Linked DNA regions of Homo sapiens: region 2 is linked to region 1. Evidence: promoter capture Hi-C in human tissues and cell types (Jung and others, 2019). All regions are on one chromosome and are shown on one strand. The core of a region is centred on a gene start or on the middle of the fragment in contact, and the rest is flanking DNA. Distances in the headings are between cores, read along the strand shown. Region 1 overlaps ASRGL1 (asparaginase and isoaspartyl peptidase 1). Region 2 holds the start of WDR74 (WD repeat domain 74).

What was found. The method cuts DNA at HindIII sites, captures the fragments that hold promoters and counts their contacts. A contact is called where the count stands out against the background at its distance.
Region 2: a contact is called between the fragment with the promoter of WDR74 here and a fragment that was not itself captured in region 1, in 1 of the 25 tissues and cell types used here (IMR-90 fibroblasts).

Annotation. Positions count from the first base shown.
Region 1 is chr11:62,378,401-62,384,635 of GRCh38, forward strand. All of the region lies in intron 4 of ASRGL1 (asparaginase and isoaspartyl peptidase 1), which reads left to right. Among named protein-coding and RNA genes, the nearest start is that of SCGB1A1, 38 kb to the right of the region's middle. RefSeq lists enhancers at 3,745-4,310, 4,311-4,876. The HindIII fragment of the contact is 3,212 bases long and covers 900-4,111 here.
Region 2 is chr11:62,834,908-62,841,142 of GRCh38, forward strand. It overlaps WDR74 (WD repeat domain 74), which reads right to left and starts at 4,683. Exons shown (of 11, transcript NM_001369450.1): 1 at 4,600-4,683; 2 at 4,415-4,521; 3 at 4,207-4,328; 4 at 1,054-1,129; 5 at 788-934; 6 at 524-625. The coding sequence starts at 4,663. RefSeq lists enhancers at 4,107-4,236, 4,347-4,466, 4,527-4,866, 4,937-5,076, 5,707-5,876 and a silencer at 6,007-6,056. The HindIII fragment of the contact is 7,487 bases long and covers 2,667-6,235 here.

The DNA.
Region 1 (6,235 bases), core at 1,256-3,755:
GAGCTTGACAAATAGTTGGACTATTAAGCATTCCCTGAGGTAACACTTTCCACTGAAATCTGGTGGCTGGTTCTTTATTATTTATGGCTGGTATAGTAAAGGCAAATTTTTCATAATCCTGCTCCGCCAGAGGGATGGTAAAAAAGCAGTCCTTCAGATCAATTATAATTAAAGGCCAGTCTTTTGGGATCATGGCCAGAGAGGGCAACCCGGGTTGGAGAGGCCCCATGGGTTGAATTACGGCATTTACGGCTCTTAAGTCAGTTAACTTATGCCATCTGCCGGATTTTTTTTGAATTACAAACACAGGAGAATTCCAAGGCGAGAACGAAGGCTCAATATGTCCCTTTTCTAATTGTTCCTTTGCTAATAAATGTAAAGCCTCCAGTTTTTGTTTTGGTAGCGGCCACTGATTTACCCATACCGGTTTTTCTGTTTTCCAAGTTAATGGAATGGGTTTAGGAGGCTCTACAGTGGCCACCCCTAAAAAGGATACCCTATTCCTTTTCTTTCTTGATTTCTCTCAGTCTCAAGTGGAACTTTAATGCCATTTTCATTTTTTCCTAGTCCCTTTCCTGGTATATATCCCATATTAGTCATGATTTTTTGACTCCTGAGGCTGTATAATGGAGCAGGCATAGTGATTTCTGCACCCCATTGTTGTAATAAATCTCAACCCCACAGATGAAGTAATCATTGGTTGAAGTAATCATTGAAGTAATCATTGGTTGAACAGTACTTTCTTGATTATCCGGCCCTAAACAATGTAATAGTACTTTGATACACTTCTGAGGAGTGCCTACGCCGACAAGTCCTGTAACAGCCTTTCATTTAGGCCAATTTTTTGGCCACTGGTTTAAAGCAATGATAGAGACATCTGCTCCAGTGTCTACCAACCCTTCAAACTGTTTTCCTTGAATAATGGCCTTACACACAGGTCTGCTCTCTGAGAACTGACTTGCCCAATATGCAGCCTTTCCTGCCGGATCAGTGCTTCCAAACCCTCCTTTCTATTTATCTCACTGTTTCCAACCTTAATATAAGGCAGGAGTAACAACTGAGCAATCCTGTCTCCTGGACTGGCACTGCAAGGAATTGAGGAGCTAATAACCAATTGAATTTCACCTTTGTAGTCTGAATCAACCACACCAGTATGAATTTGAACTCCCTTTAGATTTAGACTTGATCTTCCTAAGATTAGTCCTACAGTCCCCTCAGGCAGGGGGCCATATACCCCTGTGGGAATTTTTTGTGGGGGCTCCCCTGAAAGCAGAGAGACTGCTTGTATAGTACATAAATCTACTGCTACACTGCCGCTTGTGGCAGGGGACAATTGTTGTATTGTGGTAACTGGCTCATTCCCTGAGGCACTTGTGACAGTGGGGGTTGTTGTCCCTGAAAACCCTGAGGAACAAAGGGCTGAACTGGGAATGCCCCAGTTTGTTGCAGGGCCTGAGGCTGGCCCCTTTGCTGTTTCCTGACAATAGTTGCCCATTTCTATCAAATTTAGAATTTGATAGAATTCTAATAGTGTTTTTCTTTTTTACATCTTGGACATAAGTCGGGTGGCTCTTTATCTGTTGTTGTTGTAGTAGCTTGAATAGTTATATTTTGTTTTTTTGAGGCTGGGCAATTCTTTTTTAGATGACCAATTTGACCACAATTATAACATTTTCCCCCAAATGTTCTAACTTGTCCTCCTAAAGCAACTCCCATTATTGCTTGAGCCATAAGCATAGTTTTATGCATAGCTCCTCCAATTCCATCATAGGCTTTTACGTACTCTGAGATTACATCTGATCCTGTGGGAACCTTCCCTTTTAATGGCTTAGTGGCTGATTGACACTCAGGATTGGCGTTTCCATATGCCATCAACTCCACTATGACCTTACGGGCATTTTCATCGGTAATTGACTTTTGAGCAGCATCTCGGAGCCTTGCCACAAAATCAGGGTAGGGCTTTTTAGAGCCTTGTCTTATTGTATTGAATGAGGGGCAGGTGGTTCCTGGGTCTTGGATTTTTTTCCCAGGCCCTAAGGCAGATAGCTCTAACTTGCTCAATGGCCTCATTTTGCATTATTGCTTGTTGATTAGTAGTGCTCCAATTTTGACCTTTTCCTAATAGTTGATCTGCATCTATGTTAACTGGAGGATTGGCAGCCCTATTACTTCAGACCTGTTCTTGTGCCCCATCAATCCACCAACTCTTAAATTGTAAAAATTGAGACAGTGAGAGTGATGATTTGGCCAAAATCTCCCAATCATAAGGAATGAGTCTATGTCCATGAGCAGTGGAACCTAATAATGTTCTCATATAAGGGGAGTTGGGTCCATACTGTTTTACTCCCTCTTTCATATCTTTTAACATTTTTATAGAAAAGGACTCATATCTGGCCCCAACTAGGGTAGGCGCTCCTTCTTGGGCCCCTTCTCCAGGTGGCATCGGTACTGGGAATTGCCACGCCTCAATATCTCCTTGTTTCCTTGCCTTATCAATAATTTTATGTAATGCACTACCTTGTCCACTAGGTGGTGCTGTAGGATAAAGTCTTATAGTGGGCGGCTGAGGCTATAGCGCCCTGCCCTGTGGTGCTGGAAACACTCCTGGCTGTCCATACTGATTTTCTGGGGGCGGCCGATACTGAAGTTCGGCTGGCGGCCAGTATTGATAGGCTACTGGCGGTTGGGTCTTATTTTCTACCGGCTGATATTGTGGATACTGTATTTGGATTGGCGTTGCCATGACAGAGACTCTCTATTTGATATTCTCTTGGGGTTTGTACTTGTCTAACCTGCATTTGAGGTTGTAATGTTACAGGCATCTGAACCGCTGGAAGAGGAGTTGGCCATCATGGTTTAGACTCTGATGGCCCCGCTAATTCTGGACCTTTTTCTTCTAATTCTAATGCTTCAGGATATATTACCTCCTGTAATTGATTGTAGTCAACATTTTGCATTGACCGAGCCATTACAGACTCTGCTACATATTTACAATGTGAACTTTTGAACTTTCCATTCCTTTCTGGGATTCTATCCCTGCCTATTCTTCACAATCTATTACACAGCTTTCAGGGGCATCAGCAACTGAAACGCTATCTTCTCCTGTTTGAAACAGTTCTAAATTAGCTGCTTTAATAATGGCCCAATCATTCCATACGGTAAGTGGGATGATTTTACCCTTCCTACTTGCTTGTTTTAATTCTTTGCCAATTTTTTCCCAATCTTTTAGATCTAAAGTTCCCTGTTCTAGAAACCATGGGCAGAATTGTTCTACTGTTTGAAATAGCGTGATTAGATTTTTTTGTAGAGACTCTAACTCCCCCCTTTTTAAAAGAATTTTAATAAAGCTGAGATAAGAGGCATATTTACTTTCAGTTTGCCCCATTGTTACCCTAGGTTCTTCCGAGGGCACAAGCTTACCACAAGACTGACTGTAGACGTACTCGGGAATCTCTCATCAACTTGTTCTCAATGACCACGCTCTAGCTCACCTTCACCCTAGAGAAAAGCACCCACGTTGGGCACCAGATGAAGGGGTGGCCAGCCCCTCTACACCTGTGGGCGTTTCTCATCAGGTGGGACGAGAGACTGAGAAAAGAAATAAGAGGCTGGGTGCGGTGGGTCACGCCTGTAATCCCCGCACTTTGGGAGGCCGAGGCCGGTGGATCACGAGGTCAGGAGATCGAGACCATCCTGGCTAACAGGGTGAAACCCCATCTCTACTAAAAATACAAAAAATTAGCCGGGCCCAGTGGCGGGTGCCTGTAGTCCCAGCTACTCAGGAGGCTGAGGCAGGAGAGACAGAGACAACGTATAGAGAAAAAAAAGTGGGCCCAGGGGACCGGTGCTCAGCATACGGAGGACCCCCACCGGCAACAGTCTCTGAGTTCCCTCAGTATTTACTGATCATTATCTCTACCATCTGGAGAGGGGGATGTGGCAGGACAATAAGTTAATAGAGAGGAGAGGGTCAGCAGGAAAACATGTGAACAAATGTCTCTGTGTCATAAATAAGGAAAGGTGCTATGCCTTGATGTGCATGTATACAAACATTAAAGAGCAGTATTGTCGCTAGCACCTCTCACCTCCAGCCCTAAGGCTGTTTTCTCCTATCTCAGTAAATAGAACATACAATCGGGTTTTAAACCCAGACATTCTATTGCCCAGGGACAAGCAGGAGACAGATGCCTTCCTCTTATCACAACTGCAAAGAGGCCTTCCTCTTTTACTAATGCTCCTCAGCACAGACCCTTTACGGGTGGGGTGTCGGGCTGGGGGACAGTGTCGGGCTGGGGGACGGTCAGGTCTTTCCCTTCCCACAAGGCCATATCTCAGGCTATCACATGGGGAGAAACCTTGGACAATACCTGGCTTTCCTAGGCAGAGGTCCCTGCAGCCTTCCGCAGTGTATTGTGTCCCTGGGTACTTGAAATTAGAGAATGGTAATGACTTTTAACAAGCATACTGCCTTCAAGCACTTTTTTAACAAAGCACAGCCTGCATAGCCCTAAATCCATTAAACCTTGAGTCAACACAGCACGTCTCTGCGACACAGGGTTGGGGTAGGGTTACAGATTAACAGCATCTCAAGGCAGAAGAATTTTTCTTAGTACAGAACAAAATAGAGTCTCTTATGTCTACTTCTTTCTACATAGACACAGTAACAGCCTGATCTCTTTCGTTTCCCCACAAATCCATATAGTATTTGAGTGTGATAATGTAAAAATCAGTATTCATTTCTAAATCTAAGTACTGCTTTGAGAATTTTGTTGGTAATTCCAGTTGCTGCTGCTTCAGCAGAAGGAAGCTTCTCCAAATTAAAATAAATTAAAAACTTGCTAAAAACTATGTTGACTCAAGAAAGCTTGTCTTTTGCCATTTTGTCAATAGAAGTCACGTTAAGTATAAGAACATCATCAGGGGCCGGGCGCGGTGGCTCACGCATGTAATCCCAGCACTTTGGGAGGCCGAGGCGGGCGGATCACGAGGTCAGGAGATCGAGACCATCCCGGCTAAAACGGTGAAACCCCGTCTCTACTAACAATACAAAAAATTAGCCGGGCGTAGTGGCGGGCGCCTGTAGTCCCAGCTACTCGGGAGGCTGAGGCAGGAGAATGGCGTGAACCCAGGAGGCGGAGCTTGCAGTGAGCCGAGATCCCGCCACTGCACTCCAGCCTGGGCGACAGAGCGAGACTCCTACTCAAAAAAAAAAAAAAAAAAAAAAAAAAGAACATCATCAGGCCAGGCTTGGTGGCTCACGCCTGTAATCCCAGCACTTTGGGAGGCCAAGGTGGGTGGACTGCCTGAGCTCAGGAGTTCATGACCAGCCTGGGCAACATGGTGAAACCCCATCTCTACTAAAAAATACAAAAAATTAGCCAGGCTTGGCAGTGTGCACCTGTAGTCCCAGCTTCTCAGGAGGCTGAGGCAGGAGAACTGCTAGAACCCAGTTGCAGTGAGCCGAAATCACACCACTGCACTCCAGCCTGGGCGACAGGGCAAGAGTTGGTCTCAAAAAAAAAAAAAAAATCAGTACTCCCTGGAATGAAGCCAAGAAAAAATATTTTAATGGAATAAATACATAACTTATTAAATGCATCTGTGTGTGTGCATGTGTGTGTGTGCACGTGTGTGCGTGTGTGTGTGTGTGTGTTTGCCATTCATCTGCCATCACCAGCCGATTAACAAATGACCCTGGTATGCACAATAATAACTAAGTTAAGTCATCATTGGTAGTTTGTCAGCTTGCAGTGAGCCAAGATCACACCCCTGCACTCCAGCCTGGGCAACAGTGCAAGACTCCGTCTCAAAAACAAAAAAAAGTCCGGGCGCAGTGGCTCACACCTTTAATCCCAGCACTTTGGGAGGCCAAGGCAGGCAGATCATGAGGTCAGGAGTTCAAGACCAGCCTGGCCAAGATGGTGAAACTTCATCTCTACTAAGAATACAGAAAAATTAGCTGGGTGTGGTGGTACACGCCTGTAATCTCAGCTGTTTGGGAGGCTGAAGCAGAGAATTCCTTAAACCCGGGAGGCAGAGGCTGCTGTGAGCTGAGATGGCGCCACTGCATTTCAGCTTGGGCAAAAGAGCAAGACTCCATCTCAAAAAAATTTAAAAAGTAGATTTTAGGTACTCTTACCACAAAAAAATAAAGAAAGGTAATTGTGAGATGATAGGTATGTTATTCTAGTTGACTGTAATCATAATTTCACTATGTATATCAAAACATTCATGG
Region 2 (6,235 bases), core at 3,433-5,932, 460 kb after region 1:
GGCATATGACCAAGATCAGACTTCAATGTGCAGAAGCAAAGAAAATAGGACAAATACAGTGACCCAGCCCCGCCCGTGTCTCAAGACCTCAAATGAGACAAACCATAAAGATTCCCCATTCGGGCCCTTCCTGTAAAGCTGAGGAGCTGAGGCCAGAGATGGGAGGCTCAGGCCTGGGTCCCAAAGCAAATCAGAGAGGCTGCATCAGGACCAGAACCCAGTTCTCTTAACACCCAGCCCAATGTCCTCTGACACCTGCACCCTATAATTCCCACAGTGAAGGGGATCCACTCTCCTTTCCTCTCTTCCAGGTGGGAGGAAAACAGGCATAGTTCAGGAAACTCCACCCTAGAATACAGTAGAGGAAGGTCATGGGCTCAGGGACAGGGTTGGAACAGACGGGGAAGCGCTTGCTCCTCTGAACTCAGAATGGTGAGAAGAGCAGTTGTGTCAAACCGTGGGGGCCATTTCTCCAGGAGGCTGCTTTATCCCAGGAGAAGGCAGGTGTGAGGTGACACCTTACCTGGTGGTACCCTGTGCAGGTGACAAGCTTCTGTGATCCTGGGAGAAACTGTATGTCCTGGTCCCAGATGGGAACCCGCAAGTCCAGCCAGTCATTCCGCACCTGGTGGGGTGGGCAGATGGAGGACAGGGCTATGGGGGGCTCGATGTGCCCCTGTTTTCAGCCCTCCTTCGCCCCCTAAGTCCATCTAGTCTCTAATGCATCGTCAGTGGCCTCAGCCTCCCTCGACTTCAGGAACAGCTCCTTCACACTCTTGTCACTCACGTTCTTGGCCCTGAACACAGGTTCCTCAGAGCCCTGCAGGTCCCATATCTTCAAAGCATTCTCTTTCCCACCTGTGGCAACCACATGGGGGTGTGCTGGGTCTTGGCGCATCCTACACACCCCAGGGCCCACTCTCAGTTCCAGGAGCTGTAAAGAATAGGAGATAAGAGTCCGTTCCAGAGTCCTTAATCCTCCCTTCCCCAGCGTGATCATTAGGCACCTACCCCAGCCCACCTCCCCCAACCATCAGGGCAGGGGAGCCTCACTGGGTCAGAGGATGTGTCCTTGTCCTTGTCATGCCAGACTCTGAGAATCCCAGAATCCACACATGTGATGAGGGTGCTGCAGAGAAAGGATAGAGTTGGGATTTTTTAAGTGCTTAAACTCCTTGTTCTAATCTTTCTCTCCTCCTTACTACTACAGTTGACTAATGTTTAAAGAAAAAAAAAAGTATAAAAGTATTCTCTAGGCCCCAAACTCATATCAACCAGATTCCCTACTAACAGTCCAGTTTAGAAGGAAGCCTCTAGGTCACTGGGCTCTAGGCAGGGCTTGACAGCTTCCAGCTTCCTAATCTGTTAATTCAACTTTCTCAACAGGGTGAGGGTTTACCAAGTGAGGAAATAGAAGCGCTGAGAAACTAATTTGCCACTCAGCTATGTTACAACCACAGCTAGAAATCAACTCTGTGATATTCCAGAGTGCTTTTGCTGTTCACAGCTATGTCTAGCATCTGGCTGTACTGGTCTGTCTGAATCTTGAGTTGCTTACTAGGGCTGGTCTGAATTTAGGGCTTGGTCAAAGTCAAACACCAACTTCTTGGGTTCCTTGCTCTGAGTTTCAGGCACTAAATGTCAGTCTCTTGCTTAAAATATCCCTCCCGAGAAGTCCAAGCAAGTCTCTCCCCAGGATCTGCACAGCCTGCGCCTATGTTCTTTCTCACACCTGCCAACCCTCCCTAGCTGGGTTCGGGCTCTGTATCGACTTGCCTGACCTGTGGCAAAAGTCTCCCAGTTGCTGTCTCCAATCCATCCTCCATACTCCTACAGGCTCCCAGTGCTGACTATGGTACTTCCTATTCAAAAACTGATAACTTGGCCAGGCACAGTGGCTCACGCCTATAATCCCAGCACTTTGGGAGGCCAAGGCAGGCAGATCACCTGAGGTCAGGAGTTCCAGACCAGCCTGGCCAACATATAGTGAAATCTTGTCTCTACTAAAAAATACAAAAATTAGCTGGGTGTGGTGGTACATGCCTGTAGTCCTAGCTACTTGGGAAGTTGAGGCAGGAGAATCGCCTGAACCAGGGAGGTGGAGGTTGCAGTGAGCCGAGATCATGCCACTGCACTTCAGCCTCAGTGACAGAGCAAGACTCCGTCTCTCAGAAAAACAAAAACAATAAATGAATAACTCACCAACACCAATAAAAGTGCACATCTCTCAACCTAGCACTTAAAGCCCTTTACATTTAATCCCAACCTAATATAGTGTTCATCTTGTATTAAAATGCTTCCTTGGCCGGGTGCAGTGGTTCACGCCTGTAATCCCAGCATTTTGGGAGGCTGAGGTGGGCGGATTGCCTGAGGTCAGGAGTTCCAGACTAGCCTGGCCAACATAGTGAAACCCTGTCTCTAATAAAAATACAAAAAAAACTTAGCTGGGCGTGGTGGCGGATGCCTGTAATCCCAGCTACTCAGGAGGCTGAGGCAAGAGAATCGCTTGAGCCTGGGAGGCAGAAGTTGCAGTGAGCCGAGACTGTGCCACTGCACTCCAGCCTGGGCAACAGAGTGAGACTCCGTATATAAAAAAAAAACAAAAAACAAAAAAAAAAAAACGCTTCCTTGTTATCAACTTCCAAATCAAATGCTATTTATCCTATTTATGTACCCTGTAGCATGCCTCCAGTCCTTGGCCTCTCCCAGGCAGTACCCTCTTTCTAGAATACCCTTATCCCCTTCTCCACCAGTCAAAATTCTACCCATCCCTCAAGAACCAGTTCAGACATCCAGTCCCCCCCACAGGCTTTCCAGACCTCACCTGTCAGAATTACCACCACCAAACCTATGCAGCCTGCTTCACAGCCCTCTTTCATCATCTTTGGAAGAAAGCAAGGCCAGTCATCCAACCACTTAGCACCTTCCTAATCTTTGCTTTCAGAGCTACATCACCTTGTTGGTGGTTGAGCTCAAGTTGAGCCCAGGAGTTTGAGACTGGCCTGGGCACACAGTGAGACCCCATCTCTATAAAAAACTTAAAAATTTAGCTGGGCAGGGTGACACCTGCCTGTGGTCCCAGGTACTCAGGAGGTTGAGGCGGGAGGATCGTTTGACCCCGGGAGGTTGAGGCTGTAGTGAGCCATGAATGCACCACTGCACTCAAGCCTAGGTGACACAGTGAGGCTCTGTCTCAAAAAATATAAATGAATTAATAATGAATTAATGAATGCATGCTTAAAACTTTTTTTGTTGTTTTTTTTGAGATGGAGTCTTGCTCTGTTTCACAGACTGGAGTGCACTGGTGCGATCTCTGCTCACTGCAACCTCTGCGGGACGGATTCAAGCGATTCTCCAGCCTCGGCCTCCCAAGTAGCTGGGATTACAGGCATGAGCCACCACACCCGGATAATTTTTGTATTTTTTTAGTAGAGAAGGGGTTTTACCGTGCTGGCCAGGCTGGTCTTGAACTCCTGACCTCAAGTGATCCACCTATCTCGGCCTTCCAAAGTGCTGGGATGACAGGCATGAGCCACCACACCCAGCCTTGCTTAAAACTATTAAATGACAAGCAGGCACAGTGGCTCACGCCTGTAATCCCAGCACTTTGGGAGTCCGAGGCAGGTGGATCACCTGAGGTCAGGAGTTCGAGACCAGCCTAGCCAATACGGTGAAACCCCGTCTCTACTAAAGATACAAAAATAGCCGCGCGTGGTGGCAGACGCCTGTAATCCCAGGTACTTGGGAGGCTGAGGCAGGAGTATCGCTTGAACCCGGGAGGCGGAGGTTGCAGTGAGCCGAGATCGCGCCACTGCACTCCAGCCTGGGCAACAAGAGCGAAAACTCCGTCTCCAAAAAAAAAAAAAACAAAAAACAAACACACACACACACAAAACTATTAAATGACTTGCCCATGGTTACTTAGAGGATTATAATGGAGTCAGGTGAAAAACCTTAGAGGATGAGAACTTTTTGAAGGCAGAAATTTTACCGGCAGCCCCTGTACTTCTCCCAGTGCCTGGAATTCAGTAGGTGTTCAATAAATGTGTGTTACAGGTATGAACTACATAAGGCAGAAACCCAGGTCCCTGTCACCCATTCAAAGCCGTGTCACTAAGAGTTTGCCTGTCGCCATCATTCCAGTATCCTCAGGGAGCATCAACGCTCTCCCTTCGGCCCTGAGTTTAGCGAGGGGATTGGTCTTACCCGTCGGCCTGGGCGAGGCCACGGAACATGCCCTCCCCGCCCGGGCAGTGTCTCTGACCCTGGAATATGCCATCCTCGGTGCTGAAGTGCTTCACCGTCCTGTCCGCGCAGCCCACCAGCATCTGCGGCAAAGAAGGGCAAGATGGCGAGGAGAGCGAGGCTGCTGCGCCCCAGGCCCCCAGCTCCGGCCCGACCAGGGGCCACTCACCTGGGTCTCGCCGCCGGTGCCCCAACACAGGGCGCTCACTGCCTCCTCGCGCCGCGGCTGTCCTCCGGCCGTGAAGTTCGCCGCCTGTTTTCGCTGAAGATTTACCCCTGAGAGACGAAGGCGTCAGTCACGCCAGGGGCGCGAGTGCACCCCTGCACTTCCCGACGCCCGAGCCTGCCACCCACCTTTCAAGATCCCAGTCTCGGTGCCGACCCACACATGGTTCCAGCGTGCAGCAGCAGCCGCCATGACAAAGCCTGGAGGCAGACAGTTCACACTTCCGGCGCAGCGTGTGCGTCACCAGCGGGCGTCGAGTCCGATGCAGCGCAGTGTAGTTGCTGGAAGTTTGAAGAGCCGAAACAGTAAAGCTTCCATGCTTGTTTTGCTTTACGAAAATGAAACCAGGAGGTGCTTGTTTATGTAGATCGGAAGAATACATTGATCATTTTGCACTTGGGGGTGAAAAGCACCTTTCCTGGACTGCGTGGCCGGATCAAGCCAGCCCTAGTCTGTCTCCCGGCTCCATTATGTAATATGTGTTCTGGACTGTTAGACAAGAAACAACAAACGATTTAAGAAACGATTTAAGAAACACTTTAGAAACGATTCAAATCATTAATGATGTGTGGGGCTTCGTTCTGGAATATAAGTCACGAAAGAAAGATGGGAAAAGGAAACCGACGATTTTTTTTTTCTTTTGAGAGAACTTCGCCCTTGTTGCCCAGGCTGGAGTGCAATGGCGCGATCTCCTCTCACCTCAACCTCCGCCTCCCGGGTTCAAGCGATTCTTCTGCCTCAGCCTCCCAAGTAGCTGGGATTACAGCTGGTATTACTAAACCACCGCGCCCGGCCTCGTTTACTCTTCAAGAGGCGGACAGCGAGGCGCGGTGGCTCACGCCTGTAATCCCAGCACTTTGGGAGGCCGAGGCGGGCGGATCATGAGGTCAGGAGATCGAGACCATCTTGGCTAACACGGTGAATCCCCGTCTCTACTAAACATACAAAAACAAAACTAGCCGGGCGTGGTGGCGGGCGCCTGTAGTCCCAGCTACTCCGGAGGCTGAGGCAGGAGAATGGCGTGAACCCGGGAGGAGGAGCTTGCAGTGAGCCGAGATTGCGCCACTGCACTCCAGCCTGGGCGTCAGAGACTCCGTCTCAAAAAAAAAAAACAAAAACAACTAAAAGTACTCTGTGCTATGCTACATGAGAAACGCAGAGAAAGTCATCGCTCAGTAGAAATACAGTAATAGCGCATGCGTAAATAGGAGAGGGAAGTCGCTACTTTACCTAGAGATTAACACAGAAAAGCAACAAATTACCAGTTTACAAGTAAACCCTTTATCTAACGCGAAGATTTATTTATTTTTTGAGATGGAATCTTGCTCTGTCTCTCAGGCTAGAGCGCCCGCCACCAGGCCTGATTCACTTTTCTTTTGGTTTTTTAGTGAAGACGGGATTTTTCACACCATGTTAGTCAGGCTGGAATTACCCAATCCGCCCGCCCCAACCTCCCGAAGTGCTAGGATTTCACGCTTGAAACCCCGAGCGCGACCTAGGTTTAACACATCAAACGCGAAACCAGGCCGGGCGCGGTGGCTCACGCCTGTAATCCCACCACTTTGGGAGGCCGAGGCGGGCGGATCACGAGCTCAGGAGATCGAGACCATCCTGGTTAACACGTTGTGAAACCCTGTCTCCACTAAAAATACAAAACAGGCCGGGCGCGGTGGCTCACGCCTGTATTCCCAGCACTTTGGGAGGCTGAAGCGGGCGGATCACAAGGTCAAGAGATGGAGACCACCCTGGCCAACATGGTGAAAC